Linked DNA regions of Homo sapiens: regions 1, 2 and 4 are each linked to region 3. The links are contacts of gene promoters, found by promoter capture Hi-C in blood cells and fetal thymus (Javierre and others, 2016). All regions are on one chromosome and are shown on one strand. The core of a region is centred on a gene start or on the middle of the fragment in contact, and the rest is flanking DNA. Distances in the headings are between cores, read along the strand shown.

The links. The method cuts DNA at HindIII sites, captures the fragments that hold promoters and counts their contacts. A CHiCAGO score of 5 or more calls a contact.
Region 1: a contact is called between a fragment that was not itself captured here and the fragment with the promoter of SLC6A6 in region 3, in 2 of 17 cell types (M2 macrophages and neutrophils). The highest score is 5.7, in M2 macrophages.
Region 2: a fragment that was not itself captured here is called in contact with the fragment with the promoter of SLC6A6 in region 3 in 7 of 17 cell types (M2 macrophages, M1 macrophages, M0 macrophages and 4 more); the score reaches 15.0 in M2 macrophages.
Region 4: a fragment that was not itself captured here is called in contact with the fragment with the promoter of SLC6A6 in region 3 in 1 of 17 cell types (erythroblasts); the score reaches 5.6 in erythroblasts.

What each region holds. Positions count from the first base shown.
Region 1 is chr3:14,246,892-14,252,138 of GRCh38, forward strand. No RefSeq gene overlaps it. Among named protein-coding and RNA genes, the nearest start is that of LSM3, 71 kb to the left of the region's middle. The HindIII fragment of the contact is 3,788 bases long and covers 1-3,459 here.
Region 2 is chr3:14,265,637-14,271,167 of GRCh38, forward strand. No RefSeq gene overlaps it. Among named protein-coding and RNA genes, the nearest start is that of LINC01267, 84 kb to the right of the region's middle. RefSeq lists an enhancer at 1,060-1,699. The HindIII fragment of the contact is 5,601 bases long and covers 1,152-5,531 here.
Region 3 is chr3:14,400,813-14,406,486 of GRCh38, forward strand. It overlaps SLC6A6 (solute carrier family 6 member 6), which reads left to right and starts at 1,794. Exons shown (of 15, transcript NM_003043.6): 1 at 1,794-2,035. LOC105376959 (a long non-coding RNA gene) reads right to left here and starts at 1,595. Exons shown (of 8, transcript XR_007095825.1): 1 at 1-1,595. RefSeq lists enhancers at 1,218-1,267, 1,278-1,447, 2,768-2,827, 2,898-2,977 and silencers at 1,588-2,117, 5,392-5,562. The HindIII fragment of the contact is 4,510 bases long and covers 1-3,013 here.
Region 4 is chr3:14,181,161-14,186,372 of GRCh38, forward strand. It overlaps LSM3 (LSM3 homolog, U6 small nuclear RNA and mRNA degradation associated), which reads left to right. Exons shown (of 4, transcript NM_014463.3): 2 at 400-510; 3 at 2,777-2,872. Among named protein-coding and RNA genes, the nearest start is that of LSM3, 5.0 kb to the left of the region's middle. The HindIII fragment of the contact is 7,444 bases long and covers 1-5,212 here.

The sequences.
Region 1 (5,247 bases), core at 316-2,815, 150 kb before region 3:
GAGCAGCAGCAGATCCAGGTAACAAGGCTGCCCAGGGGCCACATGGCAAGGAGATGGGGGATCTTGAGATCTAGTCCTGCTTTGTGTGACTTTGGGCTAATGATTGTTTGCCTTGAGTCTTGTTCACTCCCCTACTTCTGCCCTCATTCATTCAGCAAACATATGGCAAGAGGGTATGACCTATGTGCCAGATATTGTGCTATAGAGGGAATATCAAAATGAGTGAAGTCGTCATGAAATTTCTAATCCTGACCCACGTTACATGGGAAAATCATTAATGTACATCTTATAGGGACATTGGGTGAATTATAATAAATGAATTAATCCATGTAAAGCACTGATAGCATCTGCACATCACAGATATTCAATAAATGTGATGATGGTGATGATGATGGCAATGATGACAAAGACAGTGGCCTCCTGGGATGCTGACCTCCTTAGGTCTTTGTCTGTGAGTGGAGTGGGCAGTAACTCACAGGGGTTAATAACGTGTTGTCTGTAGAGTGATAAACACCGGGGTTTGAATCTCAACTCTATTAGCAGCTCCTTGAGCAAGCTCCTTTTCTTCTCTGTGCCTCAGCTGCTTTACCTGTAAAACTGAGCTTTGACTTTGTCTTTTTGAGGAAATGAGATAATACCTGTGAAATTGATTGTTTTCAAAAGTGACCCAATTTTTCACAACCTGCCATATCCATGTCCTTTTGCCTTGCTTCCTGTCAAGCGGCAGAGTCTCTTTCTTCACTTTCTTCAATATGGATGGCCTTGTAACTCGATGTGGCCAACTAACTATCCCTTCTCACTTTGAGTAGGTATCTCTTCTTATGCTGAGACCTCGCCACTACCATATGAAGAGGCCCAATCTCACCTGAAGGATGAAGACATATTAATCAGTCATCCCCACTGACCCAGCCAACAGTCAATCAATCCCCAGAAGCAGGGGCAGCCTGCTGGCCCACAGTTAACCACAGACATGTTAGAGAGGCCAGTCAACACCAGAAGAACTACCCCACCAAACCCAACTTGTACTGCCAACCCACAGAATTGTGACCAAAATAAATGGTTGTGATAATAAATCACTATTTTAGGCTGTTAAGTTCCACAGCAACAGCTAACCAATACAGCGTATAAAATGCTTGGCCTAATTAATGGAGCCCATGATGAAGATGATAATGATGATGAGGATGACAATATTGCCCATGTTTTGGCCTCTGTTGGGAATATAAGAAAAGGTTGTATCATGACTTCTGCCCAAAAGGAGTGCATAGCACTACATTATTCAAAGGAAAAGAAAGACAGCAAACAATGACTTCCAACAAACTCCCAGTCACTTGCTTGTTCTTCAAAGTCTTGACCAACTATTCTGACCTCAAGCCCTCGCTAAGGAGATTTGACGTTGCATCCACAGTAAAGAGTTATTGGAAGGTTCTAAGGCTGGGAATGGTGGGATAAGAGATGCTTTAGAAAGACCCTGCAGCAGGAAGGGTCAGAGGAAGAGCCTGCCTGTGGGAGGTCTCATGCGGTGGTCAAGGAGAGCAGGGACACCAACCTTCTGCTCACACCTGCATGGCTCCCCAGGGCTCTAAGAATAAACTCTAGACTCCACAGGGCCTGGTGTGACTGGCCCTCTACCCTTTTGAACCACTCTTCCCCGTTCTCATTCTGCTCAGCCCATGCTGTTCCTCTTACCTCCTCACACCTCCTCACTGTGCCCTGATTCCTCTTCCCTTGGTGCCTTTGCATGTGCTGTTCCATTGCCTCCCCTCCCTTCCTGTGCTCATCCTTCAGATCTCCATAGTTGAGATGTCACTGGACACTTCATCTAAGTCTAGTCCCCCTGATATGGTCACTTAAAAACCCTGTGTCCCTCTTTTGTGGCAGTCACCATGGTTTATACTTACGTATGTAATACATGAGTGATGGTTTCATGGGTATCTGCCCCCGCCAGGCTCTGAGCTCCTCTGGGGAGAGACCGAGTCTGTCCTGCTTGTTGCTGTGCCCAGAGTCTGGCCCAATGCCTGGTGTGCATCAGGCATAAATGGAATAGTTGTAAAATGAAGACTCCCTTGAGTAAAAACCCTTTGGGGCAGAACACTCGTGCTTATCCAGAATCTCCCAGTCCTGAAATCATGTGGGAGGAGAGACAGGCCACAATTCTTAGAGCTCTTCCCTCAGGAGACAAATCAGTCTCGTGCTGGAAGTGTGGCCCAAGACTCTGGCACCAGTTTTATAGCTTAAGGACACATTTAATCAGGCCAATAAATAATCCATCCCACCAGCCCCAGCAGCTGCATGGAAGGTCCTTAAGGAGAGAGAAACACCAATGTGGAACATTGAGTTCCCCAGCCCCAAGGACATGAAATTCTCCTGCAGGGTTTTAATCATCTAGTTGGACTGGAAATGCTTTCACAAGCCTTGCTTTGCAAACAAGTCTGTGATCAGAAGCAAACAAATAGGCTCTGTGTGGACATCTGACATCTAGGAGACTTCATTGGGGCCGCTACAGGAAGACGGATGCAACAGAGAAAAACACAGAGCTGAAAGCAACAAAAGACTCTGTGGCCTGACCCCATTGTCCCCAGAGAGGAGAGTCACTGACATCTCTCCCTTTCATCTTTTTTTTTTTTTTTTTTTGAGATGGAGTCTTATTCTGTTGCCCAGGCTGGAGTGCAGTGGCGTGTTCTCGGCCCACTGCAAGCTCCCCTTCCCGGGTTCACACCATTCTCCTGCCTCAGCCTCCCGAGTAGCTGGACTTTCATCTTACAGAATCCTTCTTCTCACTTGGAGGTGTGGGCTTGTATATAGCACTTGTGGGCTTATGTGTCCATCTGTCCGTGTCTCTCACTAGACCATATGCTCCAAGAGGGCAAGGACAGAGCTTACTCACCCATTGTTTCCCACTCATAGTGCAGTGCTTGGCATGGAGCTGGCTCCATAAATGTTTGCTGATTGAGTAAGCAAAAGAGAAACACTGAGCTGTAAGAAGGGATGGAAAGGTCAGCCTCACGCATACACAAAGATATAGCTGAAAGCATAGTAGAGAAATGGAGTGCGGTCTGGAGCCTCTGGATGGAGCCATTCCTGAAGACTTCACCACCAGTGGAGTTTTCATTCGTGTGCTCCAGGTTATTCCCTTTGTTGGTTAATCCAGATCCACACAAAGACTGTTATACAAATGTTCTCCTCATTCATAATAAATAGCCCCAAACTGGAAACAAACTTCATGTCCTTCAACAGGTGGTGAACAAACCAGTTGAGATATATTCATACAACAAATCCATGTAATGGAATACTACTCTGCAACTCAACCATGAAGGGAACAAATTGCTTGTTATGGACAGAATGTTTCTGACCCTCCAGAATGTGTATGCTGAAGCCCTAACCCCAGTATGTCTATATTTGGAGATGAGGCCTCTAAGGAAGTAATTAAGGTTAACTGAGGTCATAATTAAGGTTAAGTGAAGCTTTAATTCAGTAGGATTGGTGTCCTTATGGAGGAAACACCAGAAAGCACCCTCCTCCTCCTCTCTCCTCCCCCTCCCTCTCCTCACCCCCTCTCCCTCACTCCATGTACACACTGAGAGGAGGCTGCATGAAGACATAGCAAGAAAGGTGGCTGTCTGCAAGTCAAGAAAAGAGCCCTCATCAAACCAAATTGGCTGGCACCTTGATCATGGACTTCAGCCTCTGGAGCTGTGAGAAAATGAATTTCTGTCATCTAAGCCCCCCAGCCAGTGGTGTTTGTTATGACAGCCCAAGCAGACTAAGACACTGCAGATACACACAACAATACACCACGCTGAGCATAATGCGCCCGAGTCAGAGGCCTGCATCCAGTGTGAGTCCACTTAAATAAGGTCTATGAGCTTAAGCTGGTCCAGTCCACCTTATTTTGTTGTTGTTTTTGCTGTTGTTGCTGCTCTGTTTTGTTTTGTTTTGTTTTGTTTTAGGCTTTTAGCAGTCTGAAGCCATGGATTTTCACCTCTGTCTCTAGTGATAAGCGGAAAAGAGGGATGAGGAAGGGGATTTACTGGCCCAACCAGAAAGAGAAACTAAGAACCCATGACTATATTCTCTCCCTTGGACAGCACTGGACAAATCTGTAATCACCCAACAGGTTCTTCTTGCCCACTGCACAGACAAAATCCATTTACTGAGATAATGGTATTGCAGTAAAGACATTTCATTGACAGGAGATCAGTCATGCGGGAGACAGAGTTATTACTCAAATCAGTCTCCCCAAAGGCTCAGAGGTTAGGGTTTTTCAAGGATAGTTTGGTGTGGAGGGGTCTAAGGAATGGGGAATGTTGATTGGTTGGGGATGAAATCACAAGAGTATGGAAGACGGTCTTCAGGTGCTGAGTCTGCCTCTGGGTGGGGGCCACAGAACTGGATGAATCACAGGTCTGGGTGGAGTCAGCCAGTTATGAGAAATGCAAGAGTCTGAAAAGACATCCCAAAAGGTCAATCTTAGGCTCTGCAATAGTGATGTTATCTACAGGAGTAAGAGGGGACGTTCCAAATCTTGTGACCTCTGGGACAATGGCTGGTTACATTTAACTACACATACATCTTAGCAGAATTCAGGCCCCCCTCACAGCCCTAACCTTGTGGTCTTTCATTAGTTTTACAAAGGCAATTTAATTTTGGGATAGGTTATCATCATCCTTGCTATAGGTCAAACTATAAATTCCTCCCAAGGTTAGCTTGGTCCACACCATAATTGACCAAGGACAGCTTGGAGGTTAGAAGCAAGATGGAGTCAATTATGTCAGATTTCTCTTACTGTCAGAATGTTGCAAAAGGAGTTTTAGAACATGGTGAAAACAGGCCGGGCGCAGTGGCTCACGCCTGTAATCCCAGTACTTTGGGAGGCCGAGGTGGGCGGATCACGAGGTCAGGAGATCGAGACCATCCTGGCTAACATGGTGAAACCCCATCTCTACTAAAAATACAAAAAATGAGCCAGGTATGGTGGCGGGTGCCTGTAGTCCCAGCTACTCGGGAGGCTGAGGCAGGAGAATGGCGTGAACCCGGGAGGCGGAGCTTGCAGTGAGCCGAGATTGGGCCACTCCACTCCAGCCTGGGCAACAGAGCGAGACTCCATCTCAAAAAACAAAACAAAACAAAAAAAAAAACATGGTGAAAAGATTCAGACCAGTTGCTGCCTCTGGGAAGGTAGGAATTGACTGGATAGGGAGAAGAACTTTCAGAGGAGCTGGAGATGTGGCAGGTCTTGATGTGAGTGGC
Region 2 (5,531 bases), core at 2,702-5,201, 130 kb before region 3:
CGTGTGCAGGAGCCTCCATAACGTGATGTTGAGTCAAAACGATAAGCTGAAGGGTGACTCATCCAGCATAGTCCCATTAAGTTTGAGAGCAAACAAAACCAATGTTTATAGATACAGATGTATGTGTGAAAACAAATATGGGAAGGTAAACTCCAGATGCAAGGAGTTAATTCCCTCGGGAGGGAGACAAAGACAGAAATGCAATCAGAGAGGGCTGCCTGAGGGCTCTGACTATATCCCGAAAATGATCAGTGAAGGAGGAGGAGCAGGACCAGCAACCTGTTAGAACTGGAGCTGGAGCTAGTTGTGGTAGCAGACATCTGTAATCCCAGGGACTCAGGAGGCCAAGGCAGGAGGATTGCTTGAGGCCAGTTGGAGACTAGCCTGGGCAACATAATGAGACCCTGCGTCTAAAAATTAAAAATAAACTAGCCAGGTATGATGGCATGCACTTGACATCCCAGCTACTTGAGAGACTGAGGCAGAAGGATCGCTTGAGCCCAGGAGCTTGAACCTGGAGCAAATTGTAATTACACCACTGCACTCCATCCTGGGCAACAGAGCGAGACCCTGTCTCTAAAAAAAAATAATAAAATGAATTAATTAAAATAAAGAACTGGAGCCAAGTGAGAAATCCACAGGTGTTTGTTACATTACTTTCTGTACTTTTCTATATGTCTGAAATATTTCATAAGTAAAAAGAACAGATTTTCCAAATGAAGAGTTGAAGTCAGTGGTGAGCGGGGCCTCTTCCAGTTTTCTGAGTCATGCAGAAGCCTCTGGCAGTTCTAGAGGGTGCATCTGCGTCTCCCACTCTTCCAGCGCAAGCCGGCTCCATATTACGCTCCCAGTCCTAAAACAGAATGACTAACGTGGGATTCCCACCGTGGCGAGTGTGTGTGCATGTGTGTGTGCGCATGCACTCTCCCAGGGAATCTCCCACCCGCCTCCAGGCTGGCCCGCAGCCTCTCTGCCTTCTGTACATCTTCCAGAGTGGCCATGTGGGAAGCAGTCCACGTGAGAATGTCAGTACAGGGACTGAGGAGGCTGGGCCTTGGGGGGCCCCCCTGGCTCCCTGGCCTAATTGCCTCTGACCTTGGGTTTTGCATTCCTCACTTGCAAAGTGTATACAAGGGTAGTGTATGAATCTAAGCTTTCTTCTGGACCCTCACAGCCTCTCCATCTCTATGCCCTAGACAGCCTTCCCCACAATGAGATAGCAGTAAAAATGACAATTGCAGCTGCTGTTTACTCAGCACCAATAGTTGATTATCTCATTTAACCCCCACAACAGACCCCTGATGGATGAGAAGGCTGAGGATCAGCGAGGCCCCGTGGCTTGTCCCAGGAAACACAGTGGAGATGCAGTGTTGCTGGGGCTTTGAGGAGTGGAGGGAGGAAGGCTACCGTTGCACTGGCTTCTGCCCACCCCAGCCTTTGGCCACCCTGCCCGAGATGCCTCCCTCTCAGCCCCCGGCTCTGGATTTCCACCCTGAATCCTTCCCTAGCTCAGGCTGGATGGGCTTTGCTGGTTGAGAGTTCTGGGAGCCGGGCCCAGGGAAGCTGGGGCAGCTGGCAGAGGCCCCTAGGTCCCACGCACACCAGGGCTGCCCAGGGCCTCCAGCCGTGGAGGCAGGGGCAGTGGATAGAAGAGGACACGGGGCTCTCTCTTGGGAGCTCTTCCCACCAGAGGCCTCTGCTTCAAAAATTCGTGACCCACCATTTCCATGGTGGCCTCTCATGGGGCATCTCCACACCCACAAGTCACCTGCCATCATCTGACCCTCGCGACACCCTCAACAGGCAGGGCCATTTGTGAAATCTTCTTCCCAGAGGAGGAAACTGGGGGTCAGTGAGGCCCTGTCTCGGGTCACCACTTCCCAGCCCCTTGAAGAGTTGTCGAAAGTGAGCACATCTGTGCCCACCGTCCCCCAAAGCCTCTCTGCCTCTTCCCCAGAGGTCCCCGCGATCCTGATTTTTAACACCATAGGTGAGTTTTGCCTAGTTGAAACTCCATGTAAATGAGGTGGTCCAGTCTGTACTTTTCCTTCCCTGGTTTCTTTTGCTCATCACTCTTGGAGATCCCACGCTGCGTGTGACTGTAATTGCTCTTGTTCCTAGCTACATGATATTCCGTGCATGGGTGTGTCACAAGTTCCCCTGACACCTGCTGACAGGGGTCTGGGCCGTTCTCAGGTTTTGAAGCCAGCTGGCTTTCTGCAGCTCCTGCTGTCCCCTGCCTGAGCCCTGGAGCCTGGCAGCAGCCTGGGTCGGGAGCAGGTGTTGCAATGCTCCTCATTTTAAAGAAGGAATCAGAAGGCAAGTAGAGACAGGAGCCATCTGCCAAGGTGGGAGCTGGGGTCTACCCGGGAATACCTGCCTCTAAGCCCCAGCCTTTCCCAGCTCACTAGATCACTCCCGCCTCCCCTGCCCCAGCCCAGGGCTGCTCACATCTGCCTCTTTGACAGTCATCTTTGCCATTGGGTGGCCCTGTGTGCTGTCTGCCTGCCCTTCCCCAGCAGGATCCATGAGTGAGTCTGTGCCCGAGGCCAAGCAAGTGCTCAAGACATTTGTCATCCGCCCATCCTGCTGCTCCACCCCTGTGTCCTGTCACCTCAGCGTCCAGGGCCTGGGGCTGGTCAGGAGGCCTGAGGTGTTAGAGGGCTACAAAGTCAGGTAGGGCCTTGGGCAAGTCTCTTTGCCTCTCTGTGCCTCAGCTTCCTCCTCTGTACAGTGACATTGTTGAGAGGATAACGTGAGTTAACCCCTGAGAGGTGCTTGGCTGAGTGCCTGGCCTGCGGTGAGTGTCCACGGTTGTGGAGGCTGTGATGCCTACCCCTTGTTGCTGTTGTTATAACACAGGTGAAGAAGACGTCAATTCCCAGGCCTGGCCAACCTCAGCCCAGTGCCCTCCCTGCCCCATTAATTGTGTGTGTGTGTGTGTGTGTGTGTGTGTGTGTGTGTAGAGCCTCCCTTGAGCTTAACAAAATATTGACTTCCTGATAAAATCCTTGTCCCTAGGCTACTTTCCCTCTCCTTACTGAGCTGACCCTTCAAGGATCTCAGAGCCAAACTGATGGCTCCACAGTTCCCCCACTGCCTTGGGTCCTACTCTTAGTTTTTAAGACAATTAAATTTAAAAATTTACATGGAGATTGCTATGGTCTGAATGCCAAATCCATGTGTTGCAACCCTCATCCCCAAGGTGATGGTGTTGGGAGGTGGAAACTTTGGGAGGTGAGGAGGTCATGAGGGTGGGACCCTCATGAATGGGATTAGTGCCCTTATACAAGAGGCCCCAGAGAGCTCCCTTGCCCTTCCCACCATGTGAGGACACAGCAAGAAGGCACCATCTATGAATAAGACAGCAGGCTCTCCCTAGGCACCAAGTCTGCTGGCACCTTGGCCTTGAACTTTCCAGCCCCAGAACTGTGAGAAATAAATTTCTTTGTTTATAAAACCACCCAATCTATGGCATTTTGTTATAGCAGCAAGAACAAACTAAGACAGTGGTAGACACCTGCAGTAAAAAAGTCAAAATTCTCAGAGGAAAACTGGAAAATCAGGCTTTCTTTCTCATCCTTGTGCATTTTCGGTTGCATCTCATGTGGCTCCAGTATTCCCAGTTCCTTCTGTATCTTTCCAGAGATATTCTATCATACACAGGATGACTCCTGCATTTATCTTTCACACAAATGGTATTCTCTACATACCTTCTTCACCTTGCTATTATTTTTTACAGCAAGAAAAAAAAATCAAATTGAGCGAAACAGTCCCAAACCATTTCTACTTTAAAAATTTTTAGTTTGCAACAGTTTAAGACCCACATGAAGTTGCAAAAATAGTACAGAGTTCCCATGCACCTTTCACCCAGCTTCTCCCAGCTCCCCTAGTGCTAACATCTTACATAATCATGCTACATTGTCAAACCGGGAAATTGACATGGGTACAGTATTACTAAGTCAGACCTTATTTGGATGTTACCAGTTTTTACATGTAATAATTGTTTTGTTTGTTTTTGTTTTCTGGTGCATAATTCTCTGAAACTTTCCCATGTAGATAGATTTTGTAGCCATCAGGCTGTAGAACTATTCCAAGCACCGCAAAGAAATGCCCTCATGTTAACACTGTAGAATTGCACCTTCCCCCAACCCTATCCCTAGCAACCACTGATCTGTTCCCCATTACTATAATTATGTCACTGTGACAATGTTACATAAATGGAATTATATAGTATATAACCTTTTGAGATTGGCATGTTTTGCTCAGCATAGTGCCCTGAAGATCAACTCAAGTTGCTGTGCTTATCAATAGTCCATTCCCTTTTATTATTGTGCAGTCTTCCATTTCATGGGTGTCCCACAGTTTGTTTATTCACTCACCTGCTGAAGGACATTTGTGCTGTGTCCAACTTTTGGCTGTTATAAATAAAGCTGTGATAAATGTTCATATAAAAGTTTTTGCATAAACCTGTCTTCATTTTTCAGGGATAAATACCCAGAAGTAATAATTGCCAGGTTATATGGTAAGTGTGTGTTTAACTTGATAACGAACTTTCCAGAGAGGCCATACCCAGAAGCAAGTATGAGGACTCCAGCTGCCCTGCGTCCTTGCTAGCACTCGTCATTGTTCCTGTTTTTTATATTAGCCATTTTGATAGGTGGTAGTGATATCTCACCATAGCTTTAATTTGCGTCTCCCTGATACCCGTGATGCTGAACTTCTTTTCTTGTGCTTATGGATTTGCCATCCCCAGATCCTCTTTGGTGAAGTATCTGTATGTGTTTCTTGCCAGTTTTCTAATTGAAGTGTTTGTTTTCTTACTATTGAGTTTAGAGTGTTCTTATACATTCTAGATACAAGTCCTTCATCAGAGATCGGATTATTTGCAGATCTGCAAAGACTTCCTCCCAGTCTGGGGCTTGTCTTTCCATCCAGAGATTTTACATAGTGAACATTTTTATTTTCTTGAGACAGGGTCTTGCTCTGTCACCAGGCTGCAGTGCATTGGTACGACCACAGCTCACTGCAGCCTAGACCTCCTGGGCTCAAGTGATCCTCCTGCCTCAGCCTCCCAAGTAGCTGAGACTACAGGGGCATGCCATCACTCTTGGCTAATTTTTAAAATTTTTTTGTAGAGACAGGGTCTTCCTGTGTTGGCCAGGCTGGTCTCAAACTCCTGGCCTCAAGGGATCCTCTTGCCTCCGCCTCCCAAAATGTTAGGATTGCAGGTATGAACACCGTGCCTGGCTGAGTGAACATTTTCAATTTTGATGAAGTCCAATTTATCAATTTGTTCTTTAATGTCTAGACACCTTGCCTTTTACTTTAATATAGCTTATAGATAGTTCCCTATCATCATGTAAAGAACTCCCTTATTTCCATTGTACAGATAAAGCATAATTTATTTAACCAGTTCCCTGTTGGGGACCTAACTATCCAAACTTGTGCTACCCTAAACACCACTGCAACGAATAACTTTAAGCAGACATTCTTTCTCACACTGTGGGCTCCACATATCCACATGCTAG
Region 3 (5,674 bases), core at 544-3,043:
CACAGGGCGTCTGAGGAGTTTTTGCTTGACGTCTATTCCTGCAGTTCATGAGGGAACCTCATAGCTGAAGCAGAGGGATGTGGGAGACCCAGTCACTCCTCTTCCTCAGCTTTCGTTTGCTCACCTATAAAAGGGTACAGTGACCCTGAACTCAAAGGAGAGTGCTCAGGTGGCCAGAAGCAGATGTCACGTGGGCCACTGGGACCCTAGAGGCACTGCTGATCCCCAGGTGCTTCCTGGAGGAAGGGGCCACCCGGGGCCCGCAGAGAAGGGTGGGAAGGGTGACAGGAAGGCAAGGAAGGGCATGTGCCCAGTGGTCCTCGTCTGTCTTGGCTGGAGCCAGTATGAGGAGCACCCACTGGAAGGTCAGGTTGGAGTCCGATGGCAGGGGCCTCCAGGGAGAGCCAGTGTCACTTCGGGATGCTCCTTAGCATCCTGGGGCTGTACAGGGAGAGTGGCTGCAGAGCCCTTCCAGGCAGGGATCCTGGCCTGAGTGGGGGCAGCTCTTGGTCGGACCTGTGTGGTATTTCTTCTTCTTCTTCTTTTTTGTTTTTTTGAGACTCATTCTTGTCACCCAGGCTGGAGTGCAGTGGCGTGATCTCGGCTCACTGCAACCTCCGCCTCCCGGGTTCAAGGGATTCTCCTGCCTCAGCCTCCTGAGTAGCTGGGATTATAGGCACCCGGCACCACGCCAGGCTAATTTTTGTACTTTTAGTAGAGACGGAGTTTCGCCATGTTGGCCAGGCTGGTCTCGAACTCCTGACCTCAGGTGATCTGCCCCCTCGGCCTCCCAAAGTGCTGGGATTACAGGCATGAGCCACCGCGCCTGGCCGGTATTTCTTCTTTCATTCTCCGTGTAAATGGTGGAAGGATCGGCTCTCTCCTCCCCGCCTCCCAGGTGCAGAGAGAGAGAGAGAGAGAGAGGGACAGGAGAAGGCTGGGGTTCGGGGTTCTCACAGCGTTTCCCTCTCATGCTGCCAGGGCGGGGCAGTGGAAAATGGTCCCTGAGGGCCCGTTCATTCAAATAAGGACAAGAATAATGGCACACTCCCCATCTCCATTTAAAAATAGTCACATTAGCTGACACTGGCTTGGCACTTCCTAGATGCCGGGTGCGTTCCGAGTTCTCTACGCTGTTAACCTTGGATCTTCATAACAGCCGGAGGAGACAAGCGCTACTATTTTCCTTTCCATTTTATAGATGAGGACACTGAGGCAGAGAAATTGAGTCACTTGCCCAGGGTCACACAGCCATGGCAAGGCCAGGATTCTGGAGCTCTGTACCTGGCTTCACACCACAAGCTCAGGCCACCCTCCCGGGGCATACCGAGTCTCCCAGAACGTGGACGATCGCCCAGGGCAACGCAGTGGAGTGCGAGCCCGGTCTGGTTTGCACCTGGCTGCTCCAGGAGCCCTGGGCCTCATCCTAGGAGCCTGGCGGAAGAGGCGAGCGGTGGAGTTTGGAGGCTGCTGTGAAGGAAAGGACTAGGCGGGTCGGGTCGGGTCTGTCCTGCTCTTCTTCCGCAGGCAGGAGGCGCCCAGGGCGGGCTGCCGCACCTGGCAACGAACGTTCGCCGCGCGGCATGAGGGTGTGCGCGCGCGCTCGGCGAGCCCGGGTTCTTTGTGTGTCCGAGCCCATGCGCGCGTGCGTGTTTGCGTGTATGTGTGTGCATGTGTATGTGTGCGCGCGTGTGTCCGCACTTGGGGCGGGGCTGGAAGCCCCGGCCCCGCCCCGGCCCCGCCCCCGGCCCGGCCGAGCTGGTATTTTTCCACCCAGCAGGATGGGTGATGCTGAGAGCTGCCTGCTCAGACAACAGACACGCGAGGTCAGGAAGAAGCCGCTTATAAATTACCGCTTCCTTCGCGCCGCCGCCAACGCCGAGCCCCGAGGACCGCAAGCCCAGAGGACAAGCTGCGCCAAGAGGGAGTGCGGAGCGTTCACCCAGCGGGTCAGAGAGCGAGCGGGCAGGCAGCCCCCGGCCGGCGGAACCCGGCACAGCCGAGCAGAGCGCGGGCGGCGCCGCAGCCACCCCAGGTACCGGAGGGACCGGGAGCTGGGCGCGCAGCCGGCGCTGCCCGCCGTCTGCAGCCCCTCCCCATCCCCGCGTCGCCGCAGTCCCGGCCTCCTCCCCTCCGCGTGCGCCCATCCGGCGCCCCTTTCACCACCGCGGAAGGGACCGAGAGTCGCCTGCTCAGTCCCGCTGGCGGGGCTGTTATTGTTTCCCCGGCAAAAGGGCTCCGGCTCTTGGTGCGGGCGGCAGGAGAGTGTGTGTGTGTGTGTGTGTGTGTGTGTGTGTGTGTGTGTGTGTGTGGCATATCTGTGTGCCTGTCTCCGTCAGGATGCCTACATGTGCCTCCGTATCCCTGTGTCTGTGTTTCTGAGGGTGACTGTTTCACCGTGTCCCCAGCAGCGTGCACATGTGTGTTCCGGTGCATGTCTGTTATTCTCTGCGTGCTGGGCTGTGTGTGTGTGCCTCTCTGTGTGTGATACCTGAGTGTGCTGTCTTTGGATGTGTGCTCTTGTGTGTCCCCGTTTGTGTCTGCATGAATCTGTGTGTGGGGGGCTGCGTCTTCCAGGCCCTGGCTAGGTGCACGTGCGTGTCCCTGAGTGTGGTTGTGTCTCCAGGTCCCTGGTTGTGGGCACTCGTGTGTCCTCGGCTGTACCCAAGAGGGTGTCCCTGGTGCCTAGAGGGTCCAATGGCCAGAGCTGGTTCTCCAGGGCCGGCGCTGAGTGGGGAGAGGTGATAGGGCAGCGTGGCTCCATAGGTGCATGCACTCCATAGGTGGTGTGCAGGTGGCAGCGCCAGCGTCCAGCAGTCCTGAGTGGTGGGACCAAGGCCCGGAGGGGCAGCCAAGGGGTAGTGGACAGCCGGCAGGGCCAGCAGGACACTTCCCCCTCCAGACTATTTCTCTTCCTTCTGTGGGTTCCTCTTTTGAGTAGGAGATTCTCGTCCCCCTCCCACTAGGGAAGCCACACAGAGAGAATTCCAGGGACCTCCTCCTACAGCCTCAAAGCTTCAGCCTGGACTTCAGCCTGGACTGGAGAGGAGACCTGTGGGCAGCTCTCCCAGGCAGGGAGGTGTGTGCCGGGTAGGGCCACCGGCCTGGCTATTTTGGTCACTGTTGGGCCTCTGCCAGATCCCGGCATCCCCAGGACCAGCCCCAAAAGCTTGGGAGGCAGCCTGGGCCCCCGTTTCCTGTCTGGGGAAATAAATCAGCTCAGTAATTGCCCAGACACTTGAATGGAGGGTCTTCGGGCTGAGGTTTACTGGCGCATGGCTCCATTTGGACTTCACTAAATTGGCCCCCGCTTTGGCACAGCTGACGTTCAAGTAAATGTCACTGAGGAGATCTTTTTAAAATTTCTTTTTAATTTTTTGTTGGCTAGAAGGGAGGGGATCTTGTCCAGAGTCTCCTAGCCAGAAGGAGTTTATTTTTATGAGAGAGAGAGCGGGTGAGTGCTTAGCAACCACCTGCCTCCCTCTCGACCAGGGAGTCACCCAGGGATTGTGGGGTGGGCATGAGGAGGTGGGGTGGGGGAGGAATTTCATCAAGATGGTGTTGGAGAGGATCCAAAGGGGGCCTAGCACGGCTAAGAACCCCCAACAGGGTGGGACTGGTAGAATGGTGGGAGGTGTTAGGCCTGGCTCAGCCCCCAGTTGACCTTGGGCAACCCTTTTTCTGCCTCAGTTTCCTTACCTGTAAAATGGGTGGGGCAGACTGGTTATAGAGTAAACCAGGGACCAGAGGTAGGAGCTTGTCCCCAGGGAACTGATTTAAGTCCTATGCTTTGTTTTAATGGGTGGGTGACCTTGGTTGATTCCCTTGGTTTCTTTGAGCCTCGGCTTGGCTGCCTGGGCAGCAAGGACACCAGTGCCGGCCTCACTACGTCCTTGAGGGGATTGAGGGAGATGAGGCTGAATAAGCTTGTAGTAAGCTGTAAAGCCGGGCTCGGCTGTAGAGCTGCTGATTAGAGGGTGTCACGAGGTCCTGGGTCACTGTGGTGTATGGCAAGGGCCAAGGTGCATTCTGGAGGCTTTGTCCTTTGGGGACACCCTTGTACTAACCCATGGCTCAGCTGCAATCATCCTCCCCTGCCTCCTTCCCGTCACCTCAACCTGTGGTGATTGGACCACATCTGCTTTTCAGAGTCTGGAGGCCTGGTGAGCAGTACCCATTTTATAGATGGACAAACTGAGAGCCACCTAAGGGACTTTGCCTTGACTGGACAAAATTAAGTTTCAAAAGGTTTTCCCTAGCTCAGCTGTGAGTTTTGGCCCCATGGGGCTTTGGTCACTGATATCCTCGGGAGTTGAAATTGAACCGGGGCCTGGGGAAAATGAGGAACAAAGGTGTCCCAGTCCTTAGGGCAGGAAAGTGAGCCTATGGGACCCATTTGCACCTTGCTTCTGTCCCTAGTTACTCATTCTCCCTTCCTTGTGCCTTCCCCTGAGCCCTGCTACCCATTCTGCTGCAGGGGTCAGCCCTCCACAAGGCAGTCCGGGCTCTGGGGACTCTGTTTTCTAACCTGAACTTGTCCGCCTGTCAGTTTGTCAAAGGATTTGGGAGGTGTACTTCTCTGAAAGTCTTTCCAAAAGTCCTGAATGATAAGAAACTTGTGAGTCATTGAACACATTCCCGTATATAGAAAAAGCTGAGAAGTAAATTATAAGGGCTCCCCAGAATGCAGCTTAGCTGCAGCCAGAGGGGGTCTGCCTGGGAATTGGGGTTGGCCTGAAATCCCAGGGCCACCCTGGCAGGTACATGCTGATTCCCCACTTCTGCAGAAGGTCATGAGCAAGAGTCAGATTCTTTGGGGCTGCATCTCATTTTCCTGTGTTTGCCAACTTGGCCAGAGCGTTCGTTTGAATTTATGGGTTCTGGGCAGGAGCTGTGGATCTGGAAATGCCTAAGGAAGCCTTCAAGTGAGAATGAGAGCGCTTTTTTAATGTGCTTCATTTAGTTGATTAATAGACCTTGGTTAAGGTCAGCTCTGGGCTGGCACTGGGTTCAAGGTAGAGTGTTGGCTTTCTAGGAGCTCCTGTCCCAGAGGTAGAAGCATGTGGTAACTGCAATGGCCATTACCATCCGTAGGATACAGTGAAGAAGACCCAAGGAGCAGCTGAGTGTGCAGTGAGGGTGGGGTAGTGGGCAGGAGGCACTTTCGCTTCCTAGAGGACACAGTGTCGGAGTTGCCATTGTCTGTGGGTGGAGAAACAGGATGGGCTGGCATTCTCCACAGGGGGCAGAGTAGCCACAAGGGCACAGTGGCGTGAAATAGCCAAGCATGTTTGTAGAACAGGTTCCCCGGGTCCTAGCTGGAGAGAGGAATAGGAGCCAGATGGTGGGGAGGGGGGCGTTTTATTTTTTCACATATAAAAATAGAGACAGGGTCTTACTATGTTGCCCAGGATGGTCTCAAGCTCCTGGGCTCAGGCAATCTTCTCGCCTCAGCCTCCCAAGTGTTGATTATAGGTGTGAGCCACCGTGCCAGCCGGAGGGCCTTGAATGCTGTGTAAGTGGGTTTGGGCTTTCTCCTGATGGCAGCAGGAGTCATACTGGGTTTAAGGATAGTGGGGCAGAAGCCAGTCAAGCCTGGAGCCCAGGAGAACCCTGATGGTGAGTAAGGAACGGAACTGGGGTCCAGGAGACGGAGAGTCACCGAGCCACTAAG
Region 4 (5,212 bases), core at 754-3,253, 220 kb before region 3:
GGTAGGCATTAAGTGAGTGTTTTTCCAATGATTACATAATATTTGAGATAAAGCTAAAGTCCCTGAGACCCTATGCCCTGAAATTGGGTCAGGCAGTTTGGATTTTGAGGGAACAAAGTATAGTCATGATTATTTTGCTGTGTAACTTCTCATGTATGTGTGTTTTAACCTACATTTATATAGCACGTATTATGTGAAAAGCTCTGTTCTAAGCCTTCATGTATATCACTTAAGCCTCACAAAAACAGTATTAGGTAGACACTATTATCTCCATTTTACAGATTAGGAGACTGAGGCAGAAAAAGGTTAAATAACTTGCCCATGGTCACACAGCATAGCAGTGATTTAAGCACTACTCTGACTCTAGTACTACATTACTAATCCTGTTTCTTTTATCAGCAACAAACTACCAACACTGTAGAGGAGCCCCTGGATCTTATCAGGCTCAGCCTAGATGAGCGAATTTATGTGAAAATGAGAAATGACCGAGAGCTTCGAGGCAGATTACATGTAAGTAAATTTATCAAGTTACCTTGAAATCAGATTCCTTCCTACCCCCACTCCCTTGAAATGTAAAACCTGTCCAGAGTGAAAGGGTATTTTGAAGGAAGAGAGGGTGGTGGAAAGTCACCCATATCACATAAGCCAAATAAAGCGGCATGTATTCACATTTTTAACATTTTTTCTTTTAATAGAAATACGTTTATTATAGAACATTTTTATTCCCTTCATTTTTCCCTTCTGTTTATTTGTAAATAATATTTACTTGTCCTCCATTCGTAAATGTTTTTTAAATTTAAAACACAAATATGTGTTTTATTAGGAAAAGTTAAACAGCACAAAAATATATAGAGTAAAAAGTGAAATCCCATTTCTTCTACTGGTAATCACTACTAAAAATGGGATTATCTTGGCCAGGTGCAGTGGCTCATTCCTGTAATCTCAGCACTTTGGGAGACTGGGGCAGGAGGATCACTTGAGGCCAGGAGTTCTCTGTGTTGCCAGCCTGGGCAACATAGAGAGACCCTGTCTCTACAAAAAATAAAATTTAAAAATTGGGTTACCTTTTCTGTATGTTTACACATATACACTCATATATGTACATGTGCACATACTTGCATTATGTACACCCTACCTCTACAAAACATGGATCTTGCCATACATGTTTTTCAGTACCTTTTTTTTTTTTCACTTAATCTTTCTTGGAAATTGATCATGAGTGCATTTAATTTTCGTTTATTCTTTTTAATGACTACCTAGGATTCTGTATATGATAGTGATCGATTTTTTTTCATTTCTTGCTACAAATACGTAAATACTTGCAGTAAGCATTTTTTTACATATTTCTTTGTGCATATCTGCAAAATATCTGTAGAATTGGTCCCTTGAAATAATCCCATTTGTTCATAGAGAACCCTGAAGGTTTTGCCTCTCCTTAATGACTTGTTACTTTCCTAAGTGTGTTGTTTTTAGTATTGCTACTCTACCCTAAAGTGATTAAAAATAGCTAACATTTATTGAGCATTAATTATAGACCAGGTACTATTATTCTAAGCATTTTGTGTGTGATATCTCATTTAATCTTTATAACAACCCTATGATGATACATACTAATTATTCCTGCTTTGCAGTGTAGGAAGCTCAGGCTCAGAAAGGTACAGTCACTTGACGGTAAAGGGAGAGCCAGAATTTGAATCTAGGTTGTCTGACCTGAGCCCCACTCTTAAGTACTGTGGTTCCGCCTTCCACAAAACCTAAAGATAAAGAACCTCTGGGCTTGGAAAGGAAATAGGGACCCAGGGAGACAATCTACAGCTGGCCTTAAAGGAAGAGAGACTCCAGGAAAGGAATGGTGGTAACTTTGGGAATACAAATGGAATTGAGTTTAATTACTTAAGTTTGTGGCTCTTGGAGGCTTCTTCAGTTCCCTGTGTAAACTTGATGGTCTCTATCCTAAATGGCCCCAACTTTCTGTTTGTTTTGTGCCTCTCAGCTATACATGTTTGATCTTGTTAGTGTGCCCTGCTTAGCAGTTCCCCACATGGCTGACAAGTGACTTTTATTTTGATGTGAGCAGGTGAACCATGTAACACGTTGTTAGAAGTAAACTTGAGTTCTGAACAAGGTCCCAGAAAGTGCACCTTTTAGTAAAATGAATGAACTTTGGAGCTTGGATTGAATATCTTAGCTGTAACATTTATTGATTGAGCCCACAGGTACTAAACACATTTAAGTTCTGGATAGGTTAGAAATGGGCAGGGTGTTGCTCTACTTACTTTCTCTCTGCGACATGTGGTCTACTGTGTGCCTTTAGAAGACTGCAATGGCATTATCTTACCAGTAAACAAAGGATTTTATCTTCTTTACTGTATTTTTCTTGTCAGATTGTTATAGGTGAAATTGAAGGATGTCTACTGATAAATGATGAAGATGAATCTGCTGTTTTTCATAATTAAATATTATAAATGATGTGACTGCCTTAGATAACAAGTGGGGTGGAGACTTTAAAAATAATTTCAAGTGATTTGAAGTAAATTTATTTTTGGCAATATAAGCAGTTTTATATTTTTATCAGGTCAATTAAGTAATCATTGGAAGTGACTTGTGAAGAAACAGTATATTAGTACTGTAGGATTACTTTTTATTTGCATGTAAAAGTTTGTGATGTAAGTATCAAATGCCCTAGTTGTAATTGAGCAATTTGCATATTGTTAAGCCTTTATCATTTTTGTAATTTGATTATTAAATTTCTTGGTTCTGTACCCTCCCACTTTAGGCTTATGATCAACATTTAAATATGATCTTGGGAGATGTGGAAGAAACTGTGACTACTATAGAAATTGATGAAGAAACATATGAAGAGATATATAAAGTAAGTCATGCAATTCTATTCATTGCTTTGCAAATATCAGCTGTTCTCTCTCGAACAGCTTAACCCATATTTATGGGAAGCCTGTCATGTTTTGACACCTACTTATGGACTCAGTAGAGCATAGCAATTAAAAGCAAGGGTTCTGGCATCTGACAGACCCTGTTGCCAGTACTGGCTTGACCACTTCCTACTTGGGCTACCTTGGGCAAGGGAATTAAGTTAGCTGAGTTCTCATTGGTGAGCAGGAATACTACCACTTACCTCATAGGGTTCCCAGATTCAGTGAGATACAACAATGCAAGGTGGCTATGTATAATAGTGTGTAACAGTAATAGTGGACAGTGTTCTTTCGTTTTCTGTGGATTTGATCTATTAATACTTAATTTATTAGAAACTGAAACTGAAAAATTTTTTAAATATTTATTCATTAAAAAAACCTGGGCCGGGCGCGGTGGCTCACGCCTGTAATCCCAGCACTTTGGGAGGCCGAGGCGGGCGGATCACGAGGTCAGGAGATCGAGACCATCCCGGCTAAAAAAACGGTGAAACCCCGTCTCTACTAAAAATACAAAAAATTAGCCGGGCGTAGTGGCGGGCGCCTGTAGTCCCAGCTACTTGGGAGGCTGAGGCAGGAGAATGGCGTGAACCCGGGAGGCGGAGCTTGCAGTGAGCCGAGATCCCGCCACTGCACTCCAGCCTGGGCGACAGAGCGAGACTCCGTCTCAAAAAAAAAAAAAACCTGGCCAGGCATGGTGGCTCACACCTGTAATCCTAGCACTTTGGGAGGCTGAGGCAGGTGGATCACCTGAGGTCAGGAGTTCGAGACCAGCCTGACCAATATGGTGAAGCCCTGTCTCTGCTAAAAATACAAAAAATTAGCTGGGTGTGGTGGCATATATCTATAATCCCAGCTACTTGGGAGGCTGAGGCAGGAGAACTGCTTGAATCTTGGAGGCGGAGGTTGCAGTGAGCTGAGATTGTGCCATTGCCCTCCAGCCTTGTCAACAAGAGTGAAACGCTGTCTCAAAAAAAAAAAGGCTGGGTGCAGTGGCTCATGCCTGCAATCCCACCACTTTGGGAGGCCAAAGCGGGTGGATCACCTGAGGTCAGGAGTTCGAGACCACCCTGGCCAACATGGCAAAACCCTGTCTCTACTAAAAATACAAAATATTAGCCGGCCGTGGCGGCAGGCACTGGCAATCCCAGCTACTCGGGAGGCTGAGGCAGGAGAATCACTTGAACCTGGGAGGTAGAGGTTGCGGTAAGCTGAGATCGTGCTACTGTACTCCAGCCTGGGGGACAGAGTAAGACTCTGTCTCAAAACAAAACAAAACAAAACAAAAAAAAACCTATCACGTGTTACTGTAAGTAACATTTTTATGAACAATAACTATTTTCTAAAACAAAATTTTAATGAGGAATGTCTTTGTTTTACATTTTTGCAAATCTCTTTAATGCCCCGCTTAATCGATAACAGCTAGAAGATTCTCATATCTTTTTTCTGCGTTAAATCTATCATGAGTTGTTGTTGTAATTGAAGCAAATCTGACCACACAGATAGGTAGTTGGAAAGGAAGGAGTTTGTTTTGTGAATGTTCTACCTTTGATACTACACCCAAACTGAACAAGTGGTAGTCAGTCAAAGATTATTTGCCATCTGGAATCTGAAACGGTAACAGTAAACTTTTCGTACTCTTGTTAGGTGAAAATTCATTAATCTGCCTTGCACCTCAAATGGATCTCTTACTCATGCATGATTTGGTTACATCAGGCACTGGTTCTTTAGAAAATAGTAGTTCACTGGGCTATGCAGATTCATTTTATTTCTTCAGTGTTTAAAAAAAATCACATTTATTAGTTATCACCAGTGATCTTGTCAGAAAGGTCTTTTTTTTTTTTTAAAGACAGTCTGACTGTGTCACCCAGGCTGGAGTGCAATGTCAGTCTCAGCTCACTGCAGCCTCCGCCTCCCAGGTTCAAGCAATTCTCGTGCCTCAGCCTCCAAAGTAGCTGGGATTACAGGCATGTGCCACCACGCCCAGCTAATTTTTGTGTTTTTAGTAAAGACAGGTTTCACCATGTTGGCCAGGCTGGTCTCGAACTCCTGGCCTCCCAAAGTGCTGGAATTACAGGTGGGAGCCACTATGCCAGGCCGTAGCAGAAAGAAAGGTCTTTAAGATTTGGAAAGACAGTTTCTGACCCTGCCAGGGCATAGTGGTTAAAATGTGGGCTCAGAGTACAAGACTACATGGATTCAAATTTTGACTCCCTTGCTTACCACCTTTTTAATTGAGCCAGCTCACCTAACCTGTCTGTGGATATGTTTCCTTGTCTGTAAAA